5 separate regions of the Homo sapiens genome follow, and all the other regions are linked to region 4. The links are contacts of gene promoters, found by promoter capture Hi-C in blood cells and fetal thymus (Javierre and others, 2016). All regions are on one chromosome and are shown on one strand. The core of a region is centred on a gene start or on the middle of the fragment in contact, and the rest is flanking DNA. Distances in the headings are between cores, read along the strand shown. Region 1 overlaps RPL34-DT (RPL34 divergent transcript). Region 2 has its middle 3.5 kb from the start of OSTC. Region 3 has its middle 9.4 kb from the start of RPL34. Region 4 holds the start of TBCK (TBC1 domain containing kinase). Region 5 overlaps OSTC (oligosaccharyltransferase complex non-catalytic subunit).

Region 1 (2,700 bases), core at 28-2,527, 2.3 Mb before region 4:
AGTCAGTGAGTGAGTGGTGAGTGAATGGGAAGGCCTAGGACATTACTATACACTATGGTAGACTTTATAAACACTATACACTTTGTATACACTATATATATATTTATATATAAAAAGATAAATATATATACTCTATATACACACTATATATATGTTTTATATACACTAAATTTATAAAAAGTTTTTTCTTCAATAATAGACTAACCTTAATAAGCTTACTGTTACTTTTTTACTTTATAAAGTTTAAAAAAAATTTAACTTTTTGACTTTTTGGTAATAACACTTAGCTTAAAACACAAACACATTGTACAAGTTTTGCTACAAAGAGTTAAAATATCAGAGCCACTCTAAATAACCACTGTAAATTTTAGAAATAGGAGTTTGAAACAAATTAGATTTTTCTAATAGAAATGTTCTGAGCCTAAAGCCCTAAAGGGGAGTAAGGAAACCAATTAACTTTAATTTAAATAATCATGTCTTAAGTAGCAAATGAGCGAAGTTCTATTGTTAAAGAACAACTGTACTAAATCCCCGAAAGGTTAGATTCAAAATGGTATAAATACAGTGGTTTCACATCTTACTAATGAAATAAATTTCTATTGGTCATTGTAACCTCTGCTTCTTGTCTTACTGGACATTGTTACTGAGGGTGGAGGAAGGGAATGATTGAGATTAAGGGCAGAATAATTATGTGCAATTCCCATTGATGTTCCTATTGTTAGTAACTTTTTTAAAAGCAACCAATGAAACAGCTAATAATTTTATTCCTGGGAAAAAATAAGAAAATCTGAGCAAAGCTTATTTTCTTCTTTTAAGCTTGTATATATAGTATATGATTTTCTGTTTGTACTTGCTATTTAAAAACAATGTATTTATAATGATTGAGGTCACCATGGTGTTTTATATACAAACATGCCCCCTATTTACATCCACAATGACTGAATTTCTGCCAATGTCTATAAGCATTAAAGCAACCATCAAAAATGTATTAATAAGGCATATATTATTAATAAGGTATAATACAGTAGATACTAAACTCATGCCTGGAGTTTTATTCTGGATGAGTTAATGTAGTAAAGTAGGAAGAGAGTGAGTTTAGCAAGCAGTTTGAAGCCAGACGATGGAAAGTTTTAAATGCTATGCTTAAAGGCTTAAATTGTTTCTCTCGTGCCTTGTCTTTTGATTTCTTTCTCCTCACGTGCTACCTTTGTGAACTTCAGAAAGCAAGTTAACCTCACTGAGACTGTCTCTTTATCTGTAACATGGAAGTGGGAATCCCATATTGTGGGTGTGCTGCGGGAATTAACGGAGATAAAGCACGTAGCTGAGGCTGGCACACCATGGCTGCTCAATAGATAAATGGTCTTAGTATTGTTTTCTAGAAATGAAATGCTGCCTTCTGCTCTTCCTTATAACCAGTTTTGCACATCACTGTTACACCTTATACCTTACTAATGTTTGGTGTGTTCTTAGGAGAACATTTTTATTTCCTTGTGTTATTTTGGGGAACTCTAGAAAAACCACTATAGAATTTATCAAAATGGAAACATAGCATGGATTGACAGAAAAGGGCAAAAGAGTTAAAAGGGTTAGTGTGTCAACTCCTTGACTTTCTGGAGATCCTTTTTTTTTTTTTTTTCCCAAAACGTAGCCACTGCCTTTGTGTCTTGTTCCACGTCCTGTGTCTTGTTCCAATTATTTATGCAAATGAAGACAATTGTTTTCCTATGAAAGCTTGGTGAAAAGATGCTATAGAAAAATCCAGTGCATTTTCATTATTGCTTGCTCAACAGCAATACTCTTTTGTAGCAAGAAGAAAATAATTTTGCAAAATGCTCCCCCACCCCCACATGAAAAGTAAAAAGTACATAATATCATGTTTGTGTTGAAACTTTTTCTTCCAAAATGTCATAACCCCATACGAAAGAGAATTAAAATCCCATTATTTTAATTTACATCTAGCCACAAGATAAGTAAAGTTATCATTGAAATTCTAATTAAATGGGATGATTGACTAAGGTAGCACATCAAAGAAGAGAAGTGAATATGATAAGTCGAAGACTTATTAATTAGTCTGCGTGGTAGAAATTCCAGGGATGTCAAGCTGAGCCTGCTTCAAGGAGAAAAAAAGCAGACAAGAAAACGTTCGTTTCTTTGAAGTTAGGAACTGAGATAGTGATGGAGGTAATTGCGTCTGACTGGATCCAGTAATGAAGAGCTGTAAATCAGACTGCAGAATCGAAAGGAAGATTCAAGTAACGAATGTGGCTGCCTCCCCCTGCTGTGAAGAAACAGAATGCAGAGCGCACTAATTGACCCAGCCTATTTCCCAGTAGTTCTCTGTTATTATTTATTAATTTTTAATTTCTGAATTATTTACGTCCTGGGAAATTATTCTTGACAGGCTGTTAGGCGTGCCAAAGTTAATGGAGGAGGAAAGGACTGGTACCAGAATTAGCAGGGATGTAGTCACAGGCTACTGGATTTAATGATTTTGGAAAGAAAAATTGATTTCACACAGTGCGTCACTTTATACTACTTTAGGGATACACCAGCTATTTGATTAATTGAGGAATAACCAATTCAAAGTATATTTGAAGTGTAAATGAGTCACAGTGCTCAGCTGTTTACTTTTCTCTCTTTCTGAGAGATCTGAATTTTCTTCAAGCTGATGATTAAAAGCCAATGAAGACACACTTG
Region 2 (2,849 bases), core at 79-2,578, 2.3 Mb before region 4:
AGTTTGTAATATTCTATAAGCCACGTATAAAAGAGACCTTTCATGAGTAAGATATGCATATCTGTTATCATCCATGTCCTAACCCACAATTCCTACAGAAAAATGTTCTATTTAAACATAACATAAACTCTGTAACTGAAAACCAAAGAAATAATGAATATAGCAGTGGGCATTAGAGCATGCCCTTAAATAAACATATAATCAATCATTCAGTGGTTTTCTATTTATAGATGAAGAAGGAAAAATGTTGAGAGAAACACAGTTTACAATATAATATGCAGTAGAGCTGTCATCTTAAGCTACATATAAAAGCAAATGTTAATAATTCTTACTGTGCACAAGCAAATATATATTCAAAGAAGAAAAAAGTGTAAAGATGGTATCTACCAAGCTTTCTGTGTTCATTGTAGAATATTTTAATAAAAAGCCTTGAAGTCAGAAATGGTTCTGCCAGCCAAAAGAGAGGGAGAGCTCCACAAATAAGTTTTTAACTAAATTCTAAACAAACTAGAATTACAAAGGCTACAAATATTGTTGATTTCTGTTTATTTAAATATGTGTTGGAGAGGAAATTAGTAGCTTTGTTTTTTGTAGGATAATAATACTAATATTAACCTGGATTTTTATTTATGAAGACATTTTGCAGTTTGGTTGACAGTGTCTTGAATTATGTTCTTTCGCGCTAGGTTCTGTATAAGCATGAGTACGAAGCACTATTATGTCTCATGATCTAAATAAAAACTCTTTCTAATGCAATATTGTGGGGTTTGGTGTTATTGTTGTAGTTATTTTACATTTTGAAGGTTGTTTTTAAAATTATATGCAAGTAATGGCTGGGCACGGTGGCTCATGCCTGTAATCCCAGCACTTTGGGAGGCCTCCTCACCTGAGGTCAGCAGTTCGAACCCAGCCTGACTAACATGATGAAACCCCATCTTTACTAAAAAATACAAAATTAGCTGGGCATGGTGGTGTATGCCTCTAATCCCAGCTACTTGCAAGGCTGAGGCAGGAGAATGGCTTGAACCCGAGTGGCGGACGTTGCAGTGAGCCGAGATCGTGCCATTGCACTCCAGCCTGGGCAACAAGAGAGAAACTCCATCTCTAAAAATAAATGAATAAACAAATAAATAATGAAAATAAGAAATAAAATTATGCAAGTAAAACATAGGAACCTGCCCAATGTAAAATAATTAATTTATTCAAATATTAGAGACACATATGGAACGAGTTTCCCATTATCACTATTCTAATTTTAGTTCTCCTTCCAGAGGTAGTGAGATCACTGAGTTCTAGAATGTACAATTGGGATAAATGTACTCAGCAAATGGAAAAATCACCATATTGGTTTCCTGACCCATATTATGAGGGCTTTTATGGCAGGAAAGTCTAAGTGTAACCAGTAGAACTGCTTTTACCTACAGAAATAATAAATCTAAAGTGACTTCAGTGGCTGATGTGCTATCAAAGACTTGAAAGATGCTGAGTAGTGATTTCTGCCACATTTCGCTCAATTAACTTGGCCCTTGCAAAAGAAAGATGGACCTTGGAGAACAACAGTGGATTATTGTAAATTTAATCATGTGGTGACTCCAACTGCTGCTGCTATTCCACTTGTGGTTTTGTCGCTGGAGCACATCAACACATCTCGTGGCACCTGTTAGCTGTTCTGGCAAATGCTGTTTCTACTTATGCCTATGGTAAAGATCATCAGAAGAAGTTTGCTTTCAACTGGCAGAGTCAGCAACACACCTCCATTTCAGAATTATATCAATTCCCCAGCTCTATGTCATAATCTGATTTGCAGGAACTTTGATTGCCTTCTCATTCACAGAATATCACACTATGACATTGCATTGATAATATGCTCATTAGACAGTGATCTAAGTAGCAACTACAGTAGATATATTGTTAGGACAAATGCATGCCAGAGGATGGAAAAATAAGCACAATAAAATGTCAGGGTCTCCTCAGGGAAATGTCTAGGGGTTAAGTGATCTGTAATACATAGAAAGCTCTTTCAAAATAAAGGATATTTGCTGCACAATGCTCAATGGATGGACCACTTGCAACATATACTTCATTTGGTCATACCATTTTGATGTATTTGCTGAGCAATCCAATAAGCTGCTAGTTTTGATTGGGATCCTGAATAAGCAAAGGTTCTTCAATAGCAAACTGCTCTGCCACTTGGGCCATACAACTTAGTAGATCCAGTATTACTTGTAACGTCTGTGGTAGATAGGCATGCTTTATGAAGCTTTTGACAAGCCACTGTAGCACAGAGCCTTAGAGCTTTGGCGCAAACCTATGTCATCCTCTGTCAAGAAATAATCTCCAGGCTTGCCACTGAGATTATTTCACAGGCAGTCATTGACAAATGACTCTAGGCTTGCCACTGAACCTTAGTAGAGATGAAACTATTGACCGTGGGCAACAAGCTACCATGAAACTTGAACTACCCATCATTTGACAATTTGGCATTGTCTAATCTATCATCCAATAAACGTGGGTGTCTACAGCAGCATTCTATCATCAAATGAAAGCGTTGTGCATAAGATCAAGCTCAAGTAGATCTTGAAGGTACAAGTAAGTTGTACAAAAAATAGTTTCAAATGCATATGGCCCACATTCCTGCCACATTGTCTCTTTTCTCTCAACCTATATCTATGGCATTATACCTTCAGGCAACCTATGACCAGTTGACTGAAGAAGAAAGCCTGATTTACAGATAGTTCCACACAATGTGCTGGCACTCTCTGAAAGTAGATGGCTTTGCACAACAGCCTCACTATGAAGGAGAGTGGTAGGCCTGAAGGAAAGTGGTGAGGAAAAATCTTCCCATTGGG
Region 3 (3,036 bases), core at 100-2,599, 2.3 Mb before region 4:
TTAACAATTATCCAGCATCATAGTTTCTGGTACATGGTAGTTTCTAATAAATATTTATCGAGTAAATGAATGAAAGCTAAAGCAATTATAAAAGAATGTAAATGTTTGGCAAAAATACTTACATAATCCTTCAGGTTAACCAGAAACATTTAAGATTTATTAAAAATTATTGAATAGCTAATATTTTGGAAACCCAAAAGCATCTTTTCATCCAGAATTATTGCGGATCTTATCCTTTAATTTAGAAAATGTTAGGGACTGAATGTTTGCATCCCCCTCAAAATTTATATGTTGGAGTACTAACTTCCAATGGGATGGTGAGGCTTTGGGGAGGTATATATTATTAGATTTTGAGGATGGAGCCCTGATGACGAGATAAGTGCCCTTCTAAGAAAAGACATGAGACAGGTGATCTCTCCACCACATGTGGATACAGCAAGGAGATGGCCATCTGCAAACAGGAAGAGACATGGAATCTGCCAGTGCCTTGATCTTGGACTTAGCTTCCAGAACAGTGAGAAATAAATGTTGTTCAAGCCACTCAGTCCGTGGTAGTTACAGTAGCATGAACTAGCTGAGATAGAAATGAGATTCATAAAGACAATGTTAACTTCTTTTCTTTTTTTTTTTTGAGACGGAGTCTCGCTCTGTAGCCCAGGCTGGAGTGCAGTGGCGCAATCTCGGCTCACTGCAAGCTCCACCTCCCAGGTTCACGCCATTCTTCTGCCTCAGCCTCCGGGTAGCTGTGACTACAGGCGCCTGCCACCATGCCCGGCTAATTTTTTGTATTTTTAGTAGAGACGGGGTTTCACTGTGTTAGCTAGGATGGTCTCCATCTCCTGACCTCATGATCCACCCACCTTGGCCTCCCAAAGTGCTGGGATTACAGGTGTGAGCCACCGTGTCCAGCCAGATAGTGTTAGCTTTTCTACTCCTGGTTTAGAATAGTTGTTTACCACATCTAGTTTTTAAGAAGATGGAACTTTCCCCTTTGCAAGATTTTTAATTCTTTTCCCTTCCATTCATACAGAGAACTGGTCACATAGAGAACTGGATTCAATAAAAGGCTCATTTTGGATTTTATAAAATCAAACCCTAAACTCTTTACAGAATCGAAGTATTAATAAGTACTTATAATAACAATCAAGTCATTATCAAACATGTACCAGATATATATCAGAGCTCCTGGTACCAAGAGCATACTATATTAGTGATCATATACTGTAACTTGAGTAGTATCTAGGGATGTGCTGGTAGTATTTAACCTCCAGCTCTCTGGGGGAAAACAGGATTTTGCAGCATTTGCTGAGGTGTAAATACTCTCACCATAACAATCTCAAGATGCCAAGCAGACGTCACTGGATGCAAAACTGGAAAGAGATGCACACAACTGGCTCTCTCAAGCTGAGGTGAGGTAGCTCCAGCACACCAACTTTTTCTATTGGACCTAATAATGGCAGAATAATTATTACCGGCAATAAATAATATACTTTAGGGAAAAATCATAACATTCAGAACTGCTTCACAATCTTACTCTGTGAGGATTATATGTGATTTTAGTTGGTTTGATAAGATGCATAGTTTACAGTGAAAGTTGGACATAGCCCTGACTATCAAAATTCTGGAAGCCCAAGCTCTTAATCACTGGGGTAAAGATTATAGGATGTTATTAAGTTGCTAAAACAAACTTGATTTGCTTACTTAAACATTTGGAGATTTTATATTTTTAAGGGTAAAAGAACCCTTTCAACCTTCTAACAGAATTTATAAGCAATTCAACGGAAGGAGAAATATTAGACTTTAAAAAGAAAACCACTGACTACATTCACATGTCTTTTTAGGAACCTGTCAAGAATACTTTGTCACACACATAGAACTGGATTCAATAAGAGCTTCATTTTGTTTTTTACAAAAATCAAAACCCAGAAGAGTTATAGAATCCATTTGGGTCACTTGGACAGAGTCGTTACTATGTTCACACCCGTCAATGCTCTTTGTCTTCTAAATACTGAACTTCAACACCAACTTGTGAATATTAAAAAACAATTCAGCATAAGTGAAATAATCAGATATATAAGAAGGCTCATGTTTTAAAATAGAGAAAAACTGGAAATAGCCCAAATGTTCAAAATAAAGGGAATGTCTAAATTATAGCATGTAAATTTCATACTGCAGGCAGCTACTAAAATATTCTTTGAAAAGAAATATCACAGGGGTTATGTGGGAGAAAAAAAGGAGTTAAAAGTTTATATATGCAGTGGGCTTCCAGTTTTGACTTAAAATGTCTATTTTATTCATGGAAAACAAGATGGGAGGAAAAACATTCAACTATTAAAAATGACTGAGTAGTGGCCCAGCGTGGTGGCTCAAGCCTGTCATCCCAACACTTTAGCAGGCCGAGGCGGGCGGACATTCTGAGGTCAGGAGTTCGAGACCAGCCTGGCCAACATGGCGAACCCGTCTCTACTAAAAATACAAAAATTAGCCAGATGTGGTGGCAGGCGCCTGTAATCCCAGCTACTCGGGAGGCTGAGGCAGAATGGCTTAAACCCAGGAGGTGGAGGTTGCAGTAAGCTGAGATCGCGTCACTGCACTCCAGCCTGGGTGATAGAGTGAGACTCTGTCTCCAAAATAATAATAATAATAGTAAGTAGTGAAATTGAGATTTTTTATCATTCTATTTTTCCAAACTTTCCAAATAGTCTACAAAGCTGTTTGTTAAGTAAAACCATTTAACATACCAAGAATTCTTGGAAAAGAATGTACACCTCAATTCTTTAACTTCCTTACATTTCTCAAAGGTCACCCATTTCATATTTTGCTGAAACTTGCTAGTTCCCACCAGCTAGAGCCTGTGTCCAGTCATGTTGTTCTACCTAACTTGGAGCAGCAAGGAGAGGGAGGAGCCTCCTTCCACCAGCAAGAACTCAGGTTGGGGTGGCAAATAGGCTTTCTCTTCCACAGCAATTTTTTCAGAAATTACATCTCAAACCTTTCAAAAACTAGACTGGCCTACAGAGCAGCCAATTAGTTTAA
Region 4 (3,051 bases), core at 30-2,529:
GTGTATTTTCCTTAAAGAGTGACCCTCTTAAAAGGAAGTCAGAGCCCATCACTCTACTGCTCAAAACGCTCCAAAGTCCTATTTCATTTAGAATAAAAGTTAGATGTCCTCAAGATCTTCATGACCTGCTCGCCTTGATTTAATCTCCAGTGAAGGACTAAACCCTTCACTCAACTCTGCCCTACAGGCCTCCTTGCTATTCTAGCACGTTTCTGCTTCATGACCTCTGCAATGGCTGGTCCCTCTGTCTGACTGCACTTTCCCAAGATATTCGCGTGGTTAAATCTCCCACTTCTGTCAGCCCTTTACTTAAAAGTCATCTTTTCAGCAAGACCTTCCTGTGTCACTTTATACCCTTCTTCCCTGCTTTACGTTTCTCTTCAGGACTATCACGACCTAAAATACAGTATGTTTCTAATTACTTTGCTTAGTATGTGCCTTCCTCTCTAAAATGTGAGCTACAAGTAGACACAGATTTCCGTCTGTTTTGTTCACTGCTGTTCACCTAATGCCTAGAACGGTGTCTGGAATAGAGTGGGCGCTTAATAACTATTCGCTCAATGAATAAATTCCTGTCTTCACCCTCCTCTCCCCCAAAGCACCTAAGTCCTTTGACACACACATTCACATAACAGTAAATACGCTTAGGGATCGATATTTTTCTGTAGCATTCTTAACTTAGGCCTGCATCCCATTTCTCAAACGTGGCTCCTTTAGAAGGAAGTCTCAAACTCTTTCCTGTTTCCTTAGGCCAGGGCTGGTCCTGCTGCGAACGGACTACCCATTAGCAGCGCAGGCCAGGTCCTCTCTCCTGGAGGCAAGTTAGAGAAGGAAGACCCCTACGATCGCAATCGGCGATCCCCGAGTGAGTGACCCGCCACGACGTCACTCACATGAAGCGGAGGACCACGGGTTCCGAGACAGCCACAGCAGGAAGCATGTAGGTCCAGCCACCCGCGTACTATAGCAGTGAGAAAGGACCCAATGAGGTGTCCTTGCTGAAAGCCTGAGTGTTCTACAGATTCAACCCTCAATTCTTTCTTCCTCTTCCTGTGCTCAGTCCCATTAACCTGCCATACCACGCTCCTCGTCTTCCATTCCCTCACCCAGTATTTTCAATCGACCCCCCCCGTCCCCCCGCACCTCTTTCTCTCTCGCTATATGTCCTTTCGTGGCCAGTTTGGGCAAGGGGAAGGACACCACAAGTCGGGGTCTTTCCTCAGCGTTGGGTCGCGGTGGCTGTGAGGGCGGAAGAAAAGGCCAGGCTGAGGGGAGGGTAGAGGGTGAAAAGCTCGGATCTGTGTTTGGGGAAGGCCAGGCTTGCGCTCCTCGCCGGGTTCCGCGAAGGTTAACCTTGGCTGACTTGGCTCGCGAGCAAAGGGCAGCGTCTGAGCTCCCGGCGTTCCAGGAGTGGCCTCTTTTGTAGGAGCACCTGAAATGCAGCGTCTGGTGCACTAAGCCGTAGCGGCAGCAGCAGCCACAGCGACAGCGCTGGGGCCCTGTGTAGAAGCTCCATCCCCCTTGTCTTTGTGCTTGCCTGCGTCCCCAGACTCAGAGGCAGGTATTTGGGTAATCCAGTTTTCCGTGTCGTAGTGGGTGGGGTCTGTGGGAGGTAGAGGACTATCAGGAGCAGTGAGTGGCCCCGCATGTCTTCAGAATAGATAGAGAACCGAGCTGTGGAGCCGCTTGCTGATAGGTACTGTCTCCATCCCTAGCTACAGCCCGCCTTTCCTGTAAATCAGGTTCACCTGAGTCGTTTGGGAACCGTAGGCTTAGTAATCGCTCTGTCACTGCCTCAAAGGAAGGCTAAAGGAGGTTAGAGAATCTAGAATCCGCCCCTCCATTACTCACCTTGGAGGCAGAATTTTGCTTTGGTTTGTTTCTGGCCCTCGAGGTTTAGTCAGTCGTCAAAGTGTAACACCCCCTTGAGCAGTAGGAGAAAGTGAAGCAGAGGAAGGAAGTTACTTGAGGATTGTCAGTGGCTGCTTTTCAAGGATCCCTGTCCTGGTTTCTATCTATTTGAGACAAAAATAACCTCTTGAGAGAATGTATATATAAAATAAATGAATTAGTATCATTTTCCTGTTGAAGAAATGTGAAATTTTATTCATGATAAAATCGGCGTCTTTTGCCCTATTTTTTACTTTCTTTCCCCATTCGAGTCGTTTAAAACTCTAAGTTCTTTGAGGGCACAGAGTCTGACTTGTTCATTATCCTTTGCCCACCAGCTGGAAAAACAACTGACTTAAAATAGGGGCTTCAAAATATTTGTTGAATGAATGAATTTTCAAGCCCAACTGCTTGCACTGCTGTTTCCCTCATCTAATCTCTCATCTCTACGTTTTTTTTCCCCCGGTAGTTTTCTTCCACTCACGAGGTGTAAGTGAATGTATGTGTGTGTATTTTTGTGTGTGAGCCTTTTTATGTACAACCATTTAAGAGGTAGTGGAAAAAGAACACTGATTATGCTAATTAGTGTTTTATCTTTTTCGATCATTGTGTTTTATTTGGTTATTTTATTTTCAGCTATGTGATGATAAAGACATCTGATTGAAAATAAAATGGTCGGGCGCGGTGGCTCACGCCTGTAGTCCTAGCACTTTGGGAGGTCGAGGCGGGTGGATCACCTGAGGTCAGGAGTTCAAGACCAGCCTGGCCAGGATGGTGAAACCCCGTCTCTACTAAAAATACAAAAATTAGCCGGGCGTGGTGGCGGGCGCCTGTAATCCCAGCCACTCTGGAGGCTGAGGCACAGAATCGCTTGAACCCGGGAGGTGGAAGGATGCAGTGAGCCGAGATCATGCCACTGCACTCCAGCCTTGATGACAGAGTGAGACTCTGTCTCAAAAAAAAAAAAAAAAAAAAAAAAAATCAAGTAGTATAGCGTAGTAGGATTGAATAATAAAGTGCAACTGTCTCACCTGTCCTACTCTCAGTACTGTTCTTCAAAGATAACCACTTTTAACCTTTTCTAATTTTAGGTCTGTAGGTTAAATAATAAGTTAAACTGTTAATTCTTTTTGTTGACTTCTTGAGATAGCCCTAAGTTGA
Region 5 (2,716 bases), core at 155-2,654, 2.3 Mb before region 4:
ATCCTGGCTAACATGGTGAAACCCCGTGCTCCAGCCTGGGCAACAGTGCAAGAATCCGTCTCAAAAAAAAAAAAAAAAAAAAGGTTTACAACACCTTATACTCACTGACGGCTTCAGAACGCCTCTTCTTTTGACCCTGCTTCTACCACTTACTGCATGAGCCTGGCAAACCTCACTCAGTTTCCTCATCTGTAAAATGGAGTTACCTCAAAGGGTTTTAAGGATTATAAGAGAATCTACTCATATAGTAATTGCTACTCGTAGTTACATGCACTTCACAAATGTTAGCTGCTATTTTTAGAGTCCCAAGTTTCTTCACTGGTAACGTAAGATTTAAAAACTACTTGACAATACTGAGGTCTCCTCCAGTGCTTGGCACACAGCAAACACTCAAAAATGTGACTTCCCTCCCTTTCAGCTTCTGAACTCACTTGACTCCCTGTATGATTAGACTTATGTTCAGCCAATGCAATCAACCTAGAACTCACACACTCTTCTTTCTGCTGTATCAGCCTGGCCAATCCACACACTCTGAGTAAAGAGAACTTTCATCTAACACAACCACCTTGACAACCAGATACTTCTCACCTCCTCCCAAATCCAAAACTGAACAAAAATTTAAAAATAAAAAGGTTTGGCTGGGCACAGTGGCTCACGCCTGTAATCCCAGCACTTTGGGAGGCTGAGGCAGGCGGATCACGAGGTCAAGAGATTGAAACCATCCTGGCCAACACAGTGAAACCCCGTCTCTACTAAAAATACAAAAATTACCTGGGTGTGGTAGTGCATGCCTGTAGTCCCAGCTACTCAGGACGCCGAGGCAGGAGAATCACTTGAACCTGGGAGGCGGAGATTGCAGTGAACCGAGATCATGCCACCGCACTCCAGCCTGGCAACAGAGCCAGACTCCGTCCCCCACAAAAAAAAAAAAATTAAAAATTAAAAGGTTCTTTGGATATATACATTGAATTTAAAGACCTCACATAAATTTGCTACTATAATGCCTGATGTGTCACAAAAAGGATACTTTAAAACATAAGCTTCACAAGAAAAAAAAAAAAGGTTCAAGAAGATTTTAAGCAAGCATCCACTAATATCTGCACTCTGTAGTAGAAGTTACCCAACAGCTAGCTTACACTATGAAACAAGAGTACTAAAGACTCATTAGGAGTAACTTCTTGTAATTTGCATATACCTATATGTGAATATACACTTTGTACTCTATCTCTTAATATAGCTATATATTATGGTATCCTTCCTTGTAACTAGTGGGTGACCCATGCTTGTCAACCTATATTTAGATAGAAAAGAATATTTAAATAGACATGTCCTGTTCAAAGCTGCCAAACTTAAAATAGTTTTACCTTAAGGACAATTTGGGAGATACTAAGAAATATTATAATGTTATAACGATACCATGTTAGAAAAAAGAAAAGAAGAACAAATACATTACTATACTTCTTGATAAGAAATAAAAATAAAATTGTTGAAATACACTTACTATAATATATACTCAATCATTTAGCCCCCTCTCTTGACCCAGAAAATTTCATAATCTTATATTCAGGCCTGTGAGAATTTTACATAAGTAAAACCGTAGATAAATACAATAAAAAGTAAATCAAGAACTCAAAAACCAACTAGAGACAGGAGAAGCCACCATGAAGGACCTTCTATTTAATCTTTAAGGCCATTCTTTCAATAATCACTCAGTGCCTCTGTATATTAAGGCAAGCTCTGTGCTAGGTTAGCACTAATAGAAGCTTCTCAAAACACTACCACATTCATTATTGCATTTAACCCTTGCAACAATCTTAAAAAGGTGTGTGAAACAAGGATTAGTCTCATTTTACAGATGAAGAGTGTGACAGCAATTAAGTCGTTTGCTCAAAAATCACAAGGCCAGAAAAGAACAAAACCAGCATTAAAACACAAGTCTCCTCACTCCTGGTCTACTACCCACTCCAATGGTCCTAGAAATGGAAACCTCACTTTCTTCTTTTAGAAACAGTAATGGTTTATTCAGGCTGGGCACCTTGGCTCACGCCTGTAATCCTAGCACTTTGGGAGGCCGTGGCAGGCGGATCACGAGGTTAGGAGATCACTGGCTAACACGGTGAAACCCCATCTCTACTAAAAATACAAAAAATGAGCTGGGCATGGTGGTGGGCGCCTGTAGTCCCAGCTACTAGGGAGGCTGAGGCAGGAGAATGGTATGTACCTGGGAGGCAGAGTTTGTAGTGAGCCGAGATCACGCCACTGCACTCCAGCCTGGGCAACAGAGCGAGACTCCGTCTCAATACGAAACAAAACAAAAACAGTAATGGTTTATTCATTTATTTTTGAAACTGTGGCCATAATCTAACTTGAAACAGAACTTTTAGGACTCTATCTTTAGAATGAAAACACTGACATTGATTAACACTTACATTATGATTGAGAGCACACCTTCTCATTTAATGTTGACAACTGTAACTCCCCAAGGTACATTAATACTTCATTTAACAGGTTTGGAACCTGAGGCCAAGAGAGTTCACAGAACTAATCCAAAGTCTCAGAGCTATTAAGTGGCAGGCCAAAACTGGACTCCAAATTCCTCACCCTCTCTACTACACATTGTCCTCAGCAGCTGTACAAATGTTTTGTTTCTTTAGAATGAATTACGTCCCTTATTTGCTAAAAATGAACCTCGGATATCAGCTTTTTAGTCGCTGAA

Evidence for each region. The method cuts DNA at HindIII sites, captures the fragments that hold promoters and counts their contacts. A CHiCAGO score of 5 or more calls a contact.
Region 1: a contact is called between a fragment that was not itself captured here and the fragment with the promoter of TBCK in region 4, in 2 of 17 cell types (total B cells and naive B cells). The highest score is 16.7, in total B cells.
Region 2: a contact is called between a fragment that was not itself captured here and the fragment with the promoter of TBCK in region 4, in 5 of 17 cell types (total B cells, naive B cells, naive CD8 T cells and 2 more). The highest score is 14.7, in total B cells.
Region 3: a fragment that was not itself captured here is called in contact with the fragment with the promoter of TBCK in region 4 in 1 of 17 cell types (total B cells); the score reaches 6.9 in total B cells.
Region 5: a contact is called between a fragment that was not itself captured here and the fragment with the promoter of TBCK in region 4, in 2 of 17 cell types (total B cells and activated CD4 T cells). The highest score is 5.4, in total B cells.

Annotation. Positions count from the first base shown.
Region 1 is chr4:108,611,098-108,613,797 of GRCh38, reverse strand. The region is part of intron 1 of RPL34-DT (RPL34 divergent transcript); the gene reads left to right. Among named protein-coding and RNA genes, the nearest start is that of RPL34-DT, 8.0 kb to the left of the region's middle. RefSeq lists an enhancer at 1,489-2,700. The HindIII fragment of the contact is 918 bases long and covers 819-1,736 here.
Region 2 is chr4:108,645,686-108,648,534 of GRCh38, reverse strand. No RefSeq gene overlaps it. Among named protein-coding and RNA genes, the nearest start is that of OSTC, 3.5 kb to the left of the region's middle. The HindIII fragment of the contact is 1,869 bases long and covers 394-2,262 here.
Region 3 is chr4:108,628,432-108,631,467 of GRCh38, reverse strand. It overlaps a transcript of RPL34 not described here. Among named protein-coding and RNA genes, the nearest start is that of RPL34, 9.4 kb to the right of the region's middle. The HindIII fragment of the contact is 3,691 bases long and covers 1-3,036 here.
Region 4 is chr4:106,314,437-106,317,487 of GRCh38, reverse strand. It overlaps TBCK (TBC1 domain containing kinase), which reads left to right and starts at 1,279. Exons shown (of 26, transcript NM_001163435.3): 1 at 1,279-1,557. AIMP1 (aminoacyl tRNA synthetase complex interacting multifunctional protein 1) reads right to left here and starts at 938. Exons shown (of 7, transcript NM_001142416.2): 1 at 894-938. RefSeq lists enhancers at 730-979, 1,470-1,529, 1,610-1,699. The HindIII fragment of the contact is 5,300 bases long and covers 1-3,051 here.
Region 5 is chr4:108,662,812-108,665,527 of GRCh38, reverse strand. All of the region lies in intron 3 of OSTC (oligosaccharyltransferase complex non-catalytic subunit), which reads right to left. Among named protein-coding and RNA genes, the nearest start is that of OSTC, 14 kb to the right of the region's middle. The HindIII fragment of the contact is 723 bases long and covers 1,043-1,765 here.